Regions from separate parts of the Homo sapiens genome. Here regions 1, 2, 4 and 5 are each linked to region 3. The links are contacts of gene promoters, found by promoter capture Hi-C in human tissues and cell types (Jung and others, 2019). All regions are on one chromosome and are shown on one strand. Each heading gives the region's core, a stretch centred on a gene start or on the middle of the fragment in contact. The rest is flanking DNA. Distances are from core to core; before and after follow the strand shown.

What was found. The method cuts DNA at HindIII sites, captures the fragments that hold promoters and counts their contacts. A contact is called where the count stands out against the background at its distance.
Region 1: the fragment with the promoter of GLTP here is called in contact with the fragment with the promoter of FAM222A in region 3 in 2 of the 25 tissues and cell types used here (IMR-90 fibroblasts and hippocampus).
Region 2: a contact is called between a fragment that was not itself captured here and the fragment with the promoter of FAM222A in region 3, in 4 of the 25 tissues and cell types used here (IMR-90 fibroblasts, aorta, bladder and 1 more).
Region 4: a contact is called between a fragment that was not itself captured here and the fragment with the promoter of FAM222A in region 3, in 1 of the 25 tissues and cell types used here (IMR-90 fibroblasts).
Region 5: a fragment that was not itself captured here is called in contact with the fragment with the promoter of FAM222A in region 3 in 8 of the 25 tissues and cell types used here (H1 embryonic stem cells, adrenal gland, dorsolateral prefrontal cortex and 5 more).

Annotation. Positions count from the first base shown.
Region 1 is chr12:109,879,209-109,881,908 of GRCh38, reverse strand. GLTP (glycolipid transfer protein) reads left to right here and starts at 1,368. Exons shown (of 5, transcript NM_016433.4): 1 at 1,368-1,637. The coding sequence starts at 1,535. It overlaps LOC124903012 (a long non-coding RNA gene), which reads left to right and starts at 508. Exons shown (of 3, transcript XR_007063455.1): 1 at 508-548; 2 at 735-794; 3 at 902-1,011. It also overlaps a transcript of TCHP not described here. RefSeq lists an enhancer at 285-786 and a silencer at 1,111-1,660. The HindIII fragment of the contact is 8,000 bases long and covers 1-2,700 here.
Region 2 is chr12:109,546,445-109,549,144 of GRCh38, reverse strand. It overlaps a transcript of UBE3B not described here. Among named protein-coding and RNA genes, the nearest start is that of MMAB, 26 kb to the left of the region's middle. The HindIII fragment of the contact is 3,690 bases long and covers 1-2,700 here.
Region 3 is chr12:109,712,406-109,715,105 of GRCh38, reverse strand. FAM222A (family with sequence similarity 222 member A) reads right to left here and starts at 1,281. Exons shown (of 3, transcript NM_032829.3): 1 at 209-1,281. RefSeq lists silencers at 1,141-1,190, 1,221-1,550 and an enhancer at 2,256-2,700. The HindIII fragment of the contact is 9,746 bases long and covers 1-2,700 here.
Region 4 is chr12:109,502,917-109,505,632 of GRCh38, reverse strand. UBE3B (ubiquitin protein ligase E3B) reads right to left here. Exons shown (of 28, transcript NM_130466.4): 14 at 2,443-2,610. Among named protein-coding and RNA genes, the nearest start is that of UBE3B, 27 kb to the right of the region's middle. The HindIII fragment of the contact is 5,281 bases long and covers 1-2,716 here.
Region 5 is chr12:109,523,739-109,526,438 of GRCh38, reverse strand. UBE3B (ubiquitin protein ligase E3B) reads right to left here. Exons shown (of 28, transcript NM_130466.4): 22 at 2,324-2,461; 23 at 1,936-2,001; 24 at 23-81. Among named protein-coding and RNA genes, the nearest start is that of UBE3B, 47 kb to the right of the region's middle. The HindIII fragment of the contact is 3,674 bases long and covers 1-2,700 here.

The DNA of each region.
Region 1 (2,700 bases), core at 119-2,618, 170 kb before region 3:
GAAGGATGGCAAATGTTTATTCTGGAATGAATAAGAGGCTCTCAACAATGGTGTGTTAGATTTTTGCATAAGCTGGGCATTGGGTTTAGGACATAAGCATCTAGGTGGGTTGTGGCTGAGATGACTTGTGATTCAAGGTGTGAGAAGCTGGACCCTGGGCTGTTGGAGAGACATTAGGTTTGGGAAACAAGTGTCCAGGTTGTGGGTGAATTGGTATAAACTGGGCTGGCTCCAGCTGTTACCAGTAGAAGGTGTCCAGGTACTTGGCATCTTGGAGAAAACACACAAACGAAGCAAGGAAAGCAAAAGCAAGGATTTACTGAGAACGAAAAGTCCACCCCACAGTTTGGGAGCAGGCTTGAGCGTAGAGGCTCAAGAGCTCTGCTTACAGAATTTTCTAGGGTCTCAATACTCTAGAGGTTTCCCATTGGTTACTTGGTGAATATTCTATGTAAATGAAGAGAATGAAGTGAAGTCACAGAGTCATTTACTCAGAATGTGCCCTATTGCAAATGGAGAGGATGTGCAAATGGAGAGGATGTTACTTGGTGGGAGAGGATGAATGTGAAGTTACAAAGTATAAATGGAGAGGATGTTTCTTGGAGTGTGTGGTCTGTGTAAATGGAGAGGATGAATGTGAAGTTACAAAGTGTAAAGGGCGTGAATGGAGAGGATGAAGTGAAGTTGCAAAGCCGTTTACATTCCTGTCATTGCTAAGGTGCTTTTTGATTTAGGTCTAGGAAGTCAGCCTTATGTTCCCTGCCTCCAGGCCCTATTTTTCTGCCTCACAACAGGTAACATCAGACTGTTGAGGGCAGACTGGACCCCAGATTTCGGGAAGCAGGAGTTGTCCAGCAGGGCAGTGGCTGAGTTAGACTGTGACTTCAGCAGTGTTCAACAGGTATAAGGTCATTGAAGACCAAGAATCAAGCAATCGAGCGTCCTCGTCGGTTGTAGCGAAAGAGAACCGTGACCAACAGGAGAGCAGTGTCCACCCAGGTCACTTGGGGTTACTGGGGTACAATTTTGGGGGAAACGGGGGTCCTGGGGAGCGTTGGCTGGGTGGGGCTGTAACCCGAGCTGGTGGGCGGGTTGTGAGCTGTGACCTGGCCCGAGTCGGCCCGCCCGGATTGGGGGGCCAAACCGGGGGCGGCGGGAGGCACACCTGGGGAAGACTCACCTGGGAGCGGCTCACTTGGGCCCTCCGGGACCCATGAACCGGCGCACCTCCTCTGCGTCCCGCCCCCGGCCGGCCCCCCGGCCAATGGGGGCGCGGAGACCTCGGCGGCGGGCGCGGATTGGGAGCCGGTGAGCGGGGGCGGGGCGGCGCGCCCGGCAGTTTAGGCGCTCGGCCGGCGGGCGGCGCTGAGCGCTCGGCTACGAGGGCGCCGTGCGGGCGGAAGTGGCGACGCTGGCGTCCCCGGAGCCTGCGGCGGGCGGCTGTGACGGCCCCGGCGCTGACGGCGGCGGCCGGGGGGGCGGTGTCGACGCCCGCGGCGCCGGCTGGGGCATCACCGCGGGCCTCGACCCCGAAATGGCGCTGCTGGCCGAACACTTGCTGAAGCCGCTGCCCGCGGACAAGCAGATCGAGACCGGGCCCTTCCTCGAGGCGGTGTCCCACCTGCCGCCCTTCTTCGGTGAGCCGGAATGGAGGGGGGAGGCGGCCCGCAGCCCCACGCGCACCCGAATCCTCCTTCCCCCGAGCATCCCCTAACCATCTCTGCCCTAGACACCCCTAAGTACTGTTTCCCCAGGCACCCAAGATCCTCTTTCCCTCCACTCACCCTAAATTCTCCCTTTCCCGGACCACTCCCAAGTCCTCTCCGCTCTAAACATGTCACATCCTGCCTGTCCTCCCCAAATCCTCCCTCTCCCTAGACACCTCACAGTCCTACATATCCCCCAAATGCCCCCTGATCATCCGTGCCCCCAACACGGATGATCTTCCATCTCCCTTAGGCATTCTGTAATCCACCATCTCCCCCAAAGCCTCCTGCCCCTTCTTCCCCAAAGTCCTTCATCCCTGGCGCTTTCTGATGGCTCTCAACTCGCTCCCCTTACAATGAATCCCCCCATTTCATAAGCCTTCTCTTTGAACGCTTCCAGCCTCTCCCTCATGGGACCTACAAACCCTTCCTTCTTCCCTCAGAATTCGCCCATTCCAGATCAAAGACTCCCATCTCCCCCTCCAAGGGTAGGAAGCCTGGTGAGGCGGGGACAAGGAGAGGGTTTTGAAGATGGAGTTGCAAAATTCCAGGGCCTCTTTCTAGGGGAAACCACCTAAAGTTTTTCCTCCTTTTAGGACAGGGGTGAGGGTTGTCGGGGGAGCTGTTTTGTGAGGTGACATCAGACATACAGAGCTTGGCACCAATTCCTCCCTCAGTTTGGGCTCTACGAGAGGAAGCCCCTCCCCTGTATGTCGTGTGGAAGTTCCTGGGCGCATTGGGAAGGCGGTCCACTTTCAGACCCTCTTCCCGCACTCCCTCAGCCTAGCCCAGTCCAGCCAAGGCCCCAGATGGAAAATGGGAACTAGAAGCCAGCACCACTGCCCCTGCCCTTTGCCTTTTGGGTCCCGGGTAAAGGGTGCAACCTGAGCCTCTATTCTCCTTCTCCATGTGGGCTCTGTCCTGTCCTGCTGGTTCACTTGGTGGCCTTGCAGGAAAATACCAGCCCCCAGGGCAGAGTCCACCTGAAACCCAA
Region 2 (2,700 bases), core at 126-2,625, 170 kb after region 3:
TGCCTGTAAATAAACCATCTACCTCCCGTGGGATGGCTGGAGACTAGAGAGAAGCTTCTTAGAGGGTGATACTCCCTGATACATTCCAGCCCCCTCATGTGGGGAGGGTACCCTCCAGTAGCCAAAGCCATCAGGGAGCCCCGAAGTCTGGAAGCCTGGAGAATGTGCACCGTTTTCCCTGTCGGAGGCAGCTGGCTGTGCAGAGTCCAGCGTGCATGTAGAAGCCTGGCTTCCATTCTAGGGCAAAAGAGGTTGAAAGAAAAATGAACCTGCCTCCACTGAGCTGCCCCTGGGGGATCGCTGCGCCAGCTTTTCCCCACTATGTTGAGATGTTGGCATCTCTTCCTCCTCTGTTGGTTGCCCCATCTTTATCTTGTACAGGGGTTGAGAGTAGACAGAGAACCTTCATGTTTGTGATCTCATAGAGATTTTCATCCTGGATTATCACCCTAACTCTTCCTGGATAAGTGGCACCCCCATAGGTAGTGTGATGAGCCCAGTGTGCCAGTTAGCAAGTGGCAAAACCCACCTCAATCCCAGCCTCTGGTGTCAAAATCCAGTTTCCTTTCTCTTCTGTTCTGCTGAGAGCAGGGAAGGACTTATCCCAGGGGTAGGAAAGAGACACCAATTCCAAGTGATTGCCTGGCAGGCTGTGCTGGGTCCAGATTCAACAGGGAGGGGTTTGGGAATCCATTACTAATGTCTGCCGTGGCCTCTGGGAGAGGCAGCGGAGCGAGTGGCCTCTATTTGACATTTCTGATTCCTAGGGCAGAGCCCTCACAGATCTCAAAGGTGTGGGGACTTCAGAGGCACCTATGGTCTCCAGGCTGCTTGAGAGTGGTCAGGCTGTCCCTCTCAACCAGCCGCCAAAGCAAAAGCAGCTCTCCCAAGCCCACCGCTCCCCAAGAAAACTAGCTATCAGGAAGGGGATTTCTCAGAGCTTTCAGGCGACCCATCAGGGTCATTGATCTCTGAGAACCAAATACTTATAAATCTGACTAATTAATTAGCCCTGACGAGCTCACCACCATAACTCTGAATCTGTAATTACATTTCACATTAAAGCACGAAAAGTTAAGACTAAAGCCAGTGAGAAATGGTGTGACATCCCGCACCCCCACTCCATCCCCAGTCTAGGGACTGCAGCTCTGGAAACCACCTCCTTTTGATTGCGTTGTTCCCTGGGGTGCTGTTCCCAGCTGTGTGACAAACCAGTTCCAGCTCCCCTCCCCTGAAGTGGCTGCAAATATTTTGTACAGGGGACATTTTTGGGTTTAAAGTGCCCTGCAGCCAAAGACCACCAAGAACACACCTGTAGTCGAACAAAGTCAGATTTATTGTCTTGTTGCAATAAGGGAGCACGCGCACCGTGGGGAACCTGGGGTGCCTCAGGAAGAGGGTCTGTGCAAGGACTTATTATAGGGTTTTGGCGTGTGTTGGGGTTTGGGGGAGGGTTCAAGGAAACGTGGTTTCGCTGTGGGTTGGCTGCTGTCAGGGAGCAGGGCTATTTCTGTGATTGGGTATTTTAATAAATCTTACCTACAAGGAGGGAGGAATGAATGTGGCTAAACCTATAATTGAATACACCAGAGGGTCAGGCATGCATAGCCCCCAGCCTCGAGGAGCGGGCATCGGCTTGGGTGCCCCACCGTGCATGCATGCATGCGTGTGCGTGTGTACATGTGTGTGCGCGCGTACGCGCACATGCACCCAGGACGTGATCGAGTTCTCAGGATGGAACTCGATGATGCCTGCATGGCCGGCACTGCATGTATGACCTTGTTTGATCTCAGCAACCAGGGAAGAGTGATCATCCCAATTTTGCAAGCTTGGAAAGACGAAGTGACTTGCTCCAGGTCGTGATGAGAAAGTGGCTGAGGCTAGATTTGAATTCTAGTCTAGTTCTGGAATCTGAATCCTGATCACTGCCCTGGGGCCAGTGTGGGCAGGACGCCTCTTGTGGATATTTGCTGTTTGGGGACCCACCATCCAATTGCTTCAATTTCTTTTTGAGGATTTACTTCTTCCCATGGGATACAATCTCCATGGGGCTCTTTGTCTCATTTTCAACACACCAGAAATTATCTTATTGGTTTCTCCTTTGGTGTCTGTCTCTCTCAAAATACTCTGAATCCGGCTGGGTGTGGTGTCTCACACCTGTAATCCCAGCAGTTTGGGAGGCTGAGGCAGGAGGATCGCTTGAGCCCAGGAGTTCAACACCAGCCTGAGCAACATTGCAAAACTCTGTCTTTACAAAAAATACAAAAATTAGCCAGGTGTGGTGGCGTGCACCTGTAGTTCCAGCCACTCGGGAGGCTGAGGTGGGAGGATCACCTGAGCCCAGGAGGCAGAAGTTGCAGCGAGCCGAGATCGTGCCACATTGCCAGCCTGGGCAACAGAATGAGACTCAGTCTCAAGAACAACAAAATGAGATTGAATCCCAGTGCCTAGAACAGGCTGTGCACACAGCAGGTGCCCAAAAATATTTATTGAAATGAGTATGAAAGAATGAATGACATCAGTGCCTTGCCCAGTCTACTTCAATCCCTGAATTTTCTCTGAATTTCCCTAAAGACCCCTGCATGCACTGAGCGAGGATGGGTTGCTGGCTGGAGCTGGTTCATTCACGCCCACAGCATCCTAAAGAGACCCAGCTTCAGGCTGAACTGCACAGGTCCCCTGAACTGCCCTGGCTCCCAT
Region 3 (2,700 bases), core at 32-2,531:
CGCGGAATCCGAATGGGCCCCCCAACCTCCACTCCCATCGGCTGGCCCATCTGAACAAGTTGTGTTTGGAGGGAGGAAAGGGGCGGACAAGGGTTATCTCTGCTTCAGGACCCCCAACAGCCTAGGACCCCTTCTGTCCAATCCTGGCTGCCCGGACGCCAGGGGGTGCCCCCAGCTCCAGCGCAGAACCCCGCCCCGCACAACTCACCGGATCAGCCAGGCCGTCGAAGGGCACCAGGTCTCAGCTACCACGACGCTCCGCTCGACGGGTCGCAGCCATGCAGGAGTGGCAGAGGCTGCCTGACGAAGCCCTCCTTGGGGGTCGATGCCTCTCTCCGGGTGGGAAGGGGCGCTGTCGGTGAGGGCTATCCTGGCGCCGGCCTGCGCCGTCCGAAGTCGGGGGGGAGGGGAGGTCTCCGTTCAGCAGGGGTCACGCCCGCCCCGGACGGGGGCCGCGCGGGCGCTCAGGCGACGCATCTTCGCCGGGGCCCGTGATCGCCACGTCCGGCGGGCGGCGCTGCGCCTCCCCTCGGGGCCCCGCTCAAGGCTGCAGCTCGGCCCGCGCCGCTCCCAGGGCGCCCTCTCCGCCCGCGCTGGGAGCCCGGCGGCCGCGGCCCCTTTCGCCAGCCCCAGCTGCAGCCTGTCTTTGTTGCTTCCTCTCGCTCGCCCGCCCGCCCGCGGCTTGCAGCCCCCGGGTTCGCCCCGAGGTGGAGGGATTGTCTCCTTCGGGGGTTGCACGCACCCGCAGCGGCCCCGGCTCCTCGCCGGACATACACCGGCCCCTGCAGGTTGCAAAGAACAGCGGCGAGAATGCACCGGCCCCTCCTCCTCCTGCTCTGAGCCCCGGGTGTGGGGGGAGGGGAAGCCGGCGAACAGCGGCGGCGGCAGCGGCGGCGGCGGCGGCAGCGGGCGACGCAAGCTCGGATGCAGCCTCGGGGGCCTCGGCGCTGAGAAACAGCCGATCCCAGTGGCGCAGGACGGACACGAGGACGGCCCGGGGGACTGTGCACCGGGTGTGCGAGCTCGCAAGCCGCAGCAGGGGCCGCGCGCGCTGGGCTCTCACGCGCCCATGGCCCCGGGCGGCGCGCGGGGGCTCCCGGGGCCGCAGCCTCGCGCCGTCTGGCGCGCGCCGGCGCCTCGCCTGGTCTCAGGCCCGGGTGCCGCGCGCCGCGCCCCACAGGCGCCGGGCCCGGCTGTCCGCCTCCCCCGGCCGGCGCGCGCAGCCTCTCCGCGGAGCAGCCGGCCAGGCAGTCCTGCCCGCTGCTCCGCTCTGGCCCGACTGACAGGCGCGAGCGCCGGCAGCAGCCCCCGCGTCTCGTCCCCCGCCCGCCCCCCGCGGCCCAGCCCAATCAGCGGCGGCTGAGAGGCGGTTACCAGGGTGACGCGGCACCGCGTCCTGCGAGGGGCGGAGCCGGGGGCCGCCACGCGCGCTTTTCGCGGCAAAATTCAAAGGCCGGCAGGGCGGCTCTCCAACCTCCTCCCCCAAGCAGGGACGAGGCGGAACTTGCCTCGCGAGGACTGCAACTCCCGGCATGCTGCGCGCCGGCGCCGGGTGGAGGGGCCCCGACTGGGGGCGCAGGGCGTGCTGGTTTTTGTAGTCCCACTAGGGGTGGCAAAACCAGTGTCATTTACTGATCACATATTTGGGACAAGGCACTGTATAAGTGCATTATCGGCATTATTTCATTTAATCTTGGCAAAAACCAACCTCATGAGGAATTTGTTAAAAATAACAACTATAGCTAACACTTATGTAGCAAAGTATTTTATCTAATCCTCACAACACCGTGTGAGTGGGTATTACTATCACCCCCATTTTACAGATGAGAAAACTGATACGGTAGGTACTATTATTATACTTCCAACTTACAGAGGAAACTGAGGTAAGGAGATGTGAAGTGACATGGTCCTGGATGTTTTTGTCCTAAGGCTTATTTTTGGCAGCGATGTGTTTTTGGCATCACAGTTGTGATCTGTGGAGCGCTAACTATATAACCCAGCACAGCGCTGAGCAATTTGCAAGCTACACCTTCTAGACGTACCCCACGCCCACAGGAGACAGGCACTAGCCTACTCCCCCACTTAATAGATAGGGAAACTGAGGCATAGTTTCACATCAACCTGGGGTTCAAATATGAATCTATCAAACTATACTGTGCTTTCCCTTTTACTTTTAAAGAAGCTTCCTGGGTTCTCACAGCCCATGGGCGGCCCGTCTAGCAGTCTCATTTACAGATGGGGAAATTGAGTCCTGGGTGGGGCAGTTCCCTCAGTTGCTGTGTGTCCATCACACAGCACTGTAGGAAGCCAGCTTTCCGGGATAATAACAAAGATCCCCACAGAAATGCAGAGCAGCAGTCAGACCCCCCACCCCTCAGGCTATGCCCGTGTGATACCTGGAGTCCCACCGAAACTGGGTGGGATTGCAGCCCTGCCCTTGCTGGTTGTTGGTCTTGGCCATTTACCTTCACGGGTCTGCGCCTCAGTTTCTTGTCTGTGAAATGGGGGGCATCATAATTCCTACCTTACAGCGTAGATTTGAGGGCAAAATGAATTCTTGCATGTAAAGGACTCAAAACACACATTAAGTGCTCAATAAATGCCCTCTGTACTCACCCGGGCTGGAGGGCTTTGGAGACCCTGGGGAGCGTATCCAGCGGACGGGCTGATTATAGACGGGCCCTAGCCTACTTCCAGGAG
Region 4 (2,716 bases), core at 151-2,650, 210 kb after region 3:
TTGGTGATGACATAGGTGCCCCACTCATAACTAGTCTTTCAACTGTCCATGTTATATCAAACACACCCAAGAATGTGGAACTCTCACAATTCAAAAATAGGTTAAAATAGAAACAGAGGAAACAGTTAACACTGTGGAGATCACAAATATACTCCTATGGGATAAAAGAAGAAAAGCAAGTGTCCTCGAGTTCTGTGTAAAGGACTCATGTAGCGTAGACTAGAATGCTCATAGCATCACACACTGATTCAACAAGGGCTGCATATCTAGCCATTTAGACAGAGATGGAGACACTGGGCCTGGCAGAGCAATGGCAGACAGACCAGCAGCAGTGCCAGTGCTATCAGATGTGTGTGAGGAGCACAAACAGACACTTCCTAAGTTGTCAGTAGAAAAACAGCAGTATTTTAAAAACAAGCGTTATTTTCTATAATCTAAGTTGCTAAATAGACTGAATATCAAACATACACTTTAGACTAGTTTATCTTTATCCTTAAAGTGTATATTTTCAAGTTGACTAAAAAACCTGTATTTGGATTCTCTCACTTGGGAAAATGAGCTTCAATGTGAGCTCATTTAAAAAGCTGGACACACAGGAGATCGAGACCATCCTGGCTAACACAGTGAAACCCCGTCTCAACTAAAAATACAAAAAAAAAATTAGCCGGGCATGGTGGCAGGCGCCTGTAATCCCAGCTACTCGGGAGGCTGAGGCAGGAGAATGGCGTGAACCTGGGAGGCGGAGCCTGCAGTTGAGCCGAGATTGCGCTACTGCACTACAGCCTGGGCGACAGAGTGAGACTCCGTCTCGAAAAAAAAAAAAAAAGCTGGACACAAACCACAACCCCAAACTCCTCTCACTCAAGATGCTGCTCAAACCCTCAGGCGCTGGGGTACCCCAGGTATGGTCTTGCCCCTTCTCTCCTCCCTCTGCTCATCTTTGGGAAACCTGCCCTAGGCTGAAAGCCCATGGCTTTACACTCCATCCCTCAGCTGATGCTCCCAGAGTGTCACCTCTGCCAGCATGCCCAGCAGGCCCCTTTCCCTTGTCACAGCCACAACACAACAGACTCCTCACAGGCCCTGCCCCCGGTCTTCTCCAGCTCAGCAAACAGTGCTACCATCCACACAGGTGGTTGGGCCAACAACCTGGTATCTTCTTTAAAACCCTCAGTCCTCATGCTCCCAAATCCAAGCTACCAGTAAGACCCATATCTTCTACCTCTAAAACAAATCTAAATCCTCCTGCCTTAATCTCCATTGCTACTAAACTAGGCCAGTGGCTTTCAACCAGGAATGATTTTGCCTCCCAGGGGGCATTTGGCTGAATGCCAAATTTGAAGATATGTTTGGCTGTCACGCTGGTTGGGAAGGTGCTACTGGCATCTATGAGTAGGGACCAGGGCTGCTAAACATCCCAAAACACACAAGACAGCCCCTCATGACAAAGAATGGGCCAGCCCAAGACATCCATAATGCTAAGGCTGAGAAATCCTGCTGTAGCCCAGGCCAACATCATCTCTCAGCATTTTCATTCTCACAGTGCCCATCATTACATGAGCCCTACTTTTTACTTGCTTATTTTCAGTCTCCCCACTACTAGAATACAATCCCCTTGAGAACGAAGAACTTGGCTCTCTCTTTCACCTCTGTATCCTCAGTGCCTGGCACACAGGGGTGCTCAATAAATATTTGAAGAATGGATAAATAAGTGTGAAAGAGAAGCAGTGATTTATGATGTTAAAAAATGTAAAATGCAGCAGAGAAGCTCTTAATCCTTCATGTAATAAAAGGCTTCCACGGTTTACAAAGGCCTTTTGTACTTGTAAGACCAATTCATAACAACAACTGTGCTGCAACCTAAAAGCCTGTGATACCCAATTCTGTGCTCACAGAGGGGACTTTCCTCCATGTTAAGCTAAAAAGGAAAATGTTGGGCATATCCATGTGATGAGATACTATGTAGCCAATAAAGATAAGGTTTTCGAAGAATTTGTGACATGGTAAAATGATTATTGGAAAGGAAAGCATAGTGCTGTATATTTCAATTTAAATATATTTATTTTATATGTGCAGTACACTCAGGCACAGTTGACTGTTTTTGGATTATGGAATTAAAAGTGGTTTTCTTTTTCCTTTTTTTTTTGCAACCCTATCTTTTTTGCTTCTTTACTCAGAAAACAGAAACTTTTTAAAAGTAAATTCTACTTCATAATTAAAGTAAGAGTCACAAAACAGGAATGAGATGCAAGTGCTTATGATTGAGGTGAGCATGAGCAATGTAACTGAGGTGGACTAATCTCTAAGAGGAACAGCTCAAAAATGCCCTCCTTCAGAATCTATTTTCAGAGTCAAAGAAGCCAGAAAAAAACATCGACTTTTGCTAAGACAAACTGTCTGCCAAATGTGAGAGGTGAAGAAGATGCCCTGGGGACTGCGAACCTGTGAGTATCTGCAGCCGAATCTGTGTGAGAGTTGTCAGCGAGGTCTGGTAGAGGACACAGATGTTGCAAACCTTCTGGACTTCTGCAGAGTCGACCCGTTTACCCCCGACAGGCCTGAGAATATTCCGGACTGATGCCGACTTTTGAAAAGCACGCTTTAGGAGACCTGGCATGGAGAAAAGAAGACATGTGAGCAGCAGCTCAGCCAGCTGCCAAATCCCACCCTGGAAAAGGAAGAGCATTTCAGTAAAGCTCTAAATGCACAGCCAGGC
Region 5 (2,700 bases), core at 97-2,596, 190 kb after region 3:
AAAACCTAATTGCTATACTCACTTATTTTCATTTGTAACAGGAATGGTCTTCCCTCCAGGAATCAGTTCATGGCAAACAAGCTGGGGGAGAAGATGGGAGTAATTAATAGGGAGGACTCTAATGGGGAAATAAAGCTTCCCGGAGATGAGAGGGCCCAGCACAAACATCCATGATAATGATGGAATTAAGATGGCACATGCTTGGGAACCATCCTTTCTCATAAAAAGTCAAGGCTGAAATATCAACAAGCAGACCCTGCATGATCAATACAAAAGGTTTTTTTCTCACCCAATCCTTGTTCAAACATTTGTATTAAGACTTCGGGATGTCATGGAGGGGAATGTGTTGGCATTTCGGAGTAGAGTAGGACGGTTAAATAAACACTGGTACATCCATACCCTGGAATACTGTGCAGGTACTAAACAATATGATGAAAATGTGCGTTTACTAAAAAGGTGAAAAAAGGCCACTGATGTAACAACATGCACAGAATGGCATCATTTCTGGAAAGGGAGACTCGGGAAAGAGTCTCAAGGGACGCAGGTAACACACTATCACGGGCACCCTGTGGGCACTGGCATTACGGGCAGCTTGCGTTTTCATCTTTTGCTCATATTAGAGCTAATTTTTTTTGTTAGAAGTTTCATTATCTTTTCATCTTTTGCTCATATTAGAGCTAATTTTTTTTTGTTAGAAGTTTCATTATCTTTATAGTCGGGAGAAAAATTATGTCAGGATAAAGCCTCAACATCTGATTATAGATTTATTTTAAACTCTGTAAAATCAACTGCTTCTTTCAACTTCAAGAACACTTCCGTGGATCACCTAAAAATCAAAGGACATATCATTTGAAGCCAATTTTAATAGAAATTCTGTGAAGATTCTATAACCCTACAGCTCTAGAAAGGAACACACTGATCCCAGTCCCACTGCTGTCAGCATCTCAGGTGGCACCAGTGGGTTTTAAAGCTGAAAGGGCCCTTAAGAATCAGCCAGCCTGAGGTTTCCCCTGATTCCAGGAACACCCTGCCCGTGAGCTATTCTGTAGAGAACGATCCTGCGAGACAGCATTCTTTCCTTCCTTCAAAGAAGAGTTCTGTGTCCCAGGATGTAGGGAAGCTTGAGATTAACTCAGCTCCACTTTGGTTTCCTCCTTACAGGCTTCTCAGAGCCTTCACGTGCCAGCCTGCCCAGGGGCCTTTCAGGAGGACAGGCCACGCAGGGCTCCCAGCGGTGCTTACAGACTGGGCCCATCCAGGACTCGCATCTGGCAAATGGATATGGAAAGTGTGGCTCAGGGAGACTGGGGGTTCTGAGGTGCCCAAGCGCGAGTCTAATAAGTCGGCTCTGCATTAAGAAGCTCATGGCGTGGTTTCTCCTGAGCGGCCCTTGGACCTGCACTCCCAGAGCCTCATGCAGGGACCTCCACCAGGACACAATCAAAGGGCGCGGAGGCTGCTACAGAGAAAAGCCAGAAGGAACCGTGGGAGGAGACGTGCTGCGGCCCTGAGACCAGGGTCTCTGCTCCCTGCTCTGCTCTGTATGCTGAGAATGAACAAGGACAGGCTTCTGCTTGAGCTTGAGGCGCTTCTCAGGTGGCATCTTCCCCTTCTCTAAGACATAATCCTCCATTTGTAACGGCTAATCCTCACCATGGTAACGAAAAGCCATGTTACAAATGGGGAATTACCCTAAAATGCGATATAAGAAAGCAGGGTCTCTGCGGGAAGCTTCAAAGGCCAGGTCAACTGGGAAGGAAAGGAGGGGGCCCTCCCTCCTGGCAAGAGGGGAGGAGGATGGGCGAGGGGTGGGGAGGACAAGGGACCAGACAGAGCCTCAGCTTGGGGCTCTTTCTGAGGAAAACAAATAACACGGCAGGTCTCAGGAGCCCATGGGGGCAGTGGAAAGGGAGCTCAGCCAAAGGGCGGACCTACCTGACCCATGACGTCCTCGTCGTAAGACAGCGTCAGGCCCAGGTCAGTGATGTCCCCATCATAGCGCTAATGTAACAGAGAAGGGGAAAGTGTTAGGGCCATGGAGCACTATGTGCTTAAGAGGTTTAACCCTCCCTTGAGGCGCTGCTTTGGTGCTGGGAACACCCATGGCTGCTGAACAGCTTGACGCAAAGAAAGTCATTCGTGACTTTGAGGAAGGAGGTTGTGAGGATCAGCCCCAAGTGGGACTGCCCACAGGGGGATGTGAGGGGCCTGTAGCAGCTACAGCAACAGCAATAAGAGAGGACAGGCCATCTCCTTCTGGGACTTCGCAAGCTGTGAGTTCACACCAGTGCTCGGCTTAGCTCACCCACCATTCCATGCTCACCTTGATGGAGGTGAGGTTTTTATAGAACTCGGAGTCCAGAGAAGGCAGTTCATCCACCGAGCTATAGAAGACGCTGTGGTGGTGCCCAAGCAGTTGGCTCAGGAAGAAGGATGCAAATGGCACGTCCACCACAATTCCCTGGGAGAGCAGAGAAGCAGAGCTGTCCATCAGCCAGGATTCTGATGCAGTGTTTGGATTGGGGTGGCTCAGGGTGCAGACATGGCCCAGGGGTGCCATCGGCATTTCCAGGCCCCTCCTAAGTTTCCAATCCGGAGGGCAGTATCTCCCCATCCTCTACCAAATACAACTGAGTGCCTCCTGGGGACAGCGCAGTGGTCAGGACACATGGTTTGGAGCTACAGTGCTCAGGGATTAAA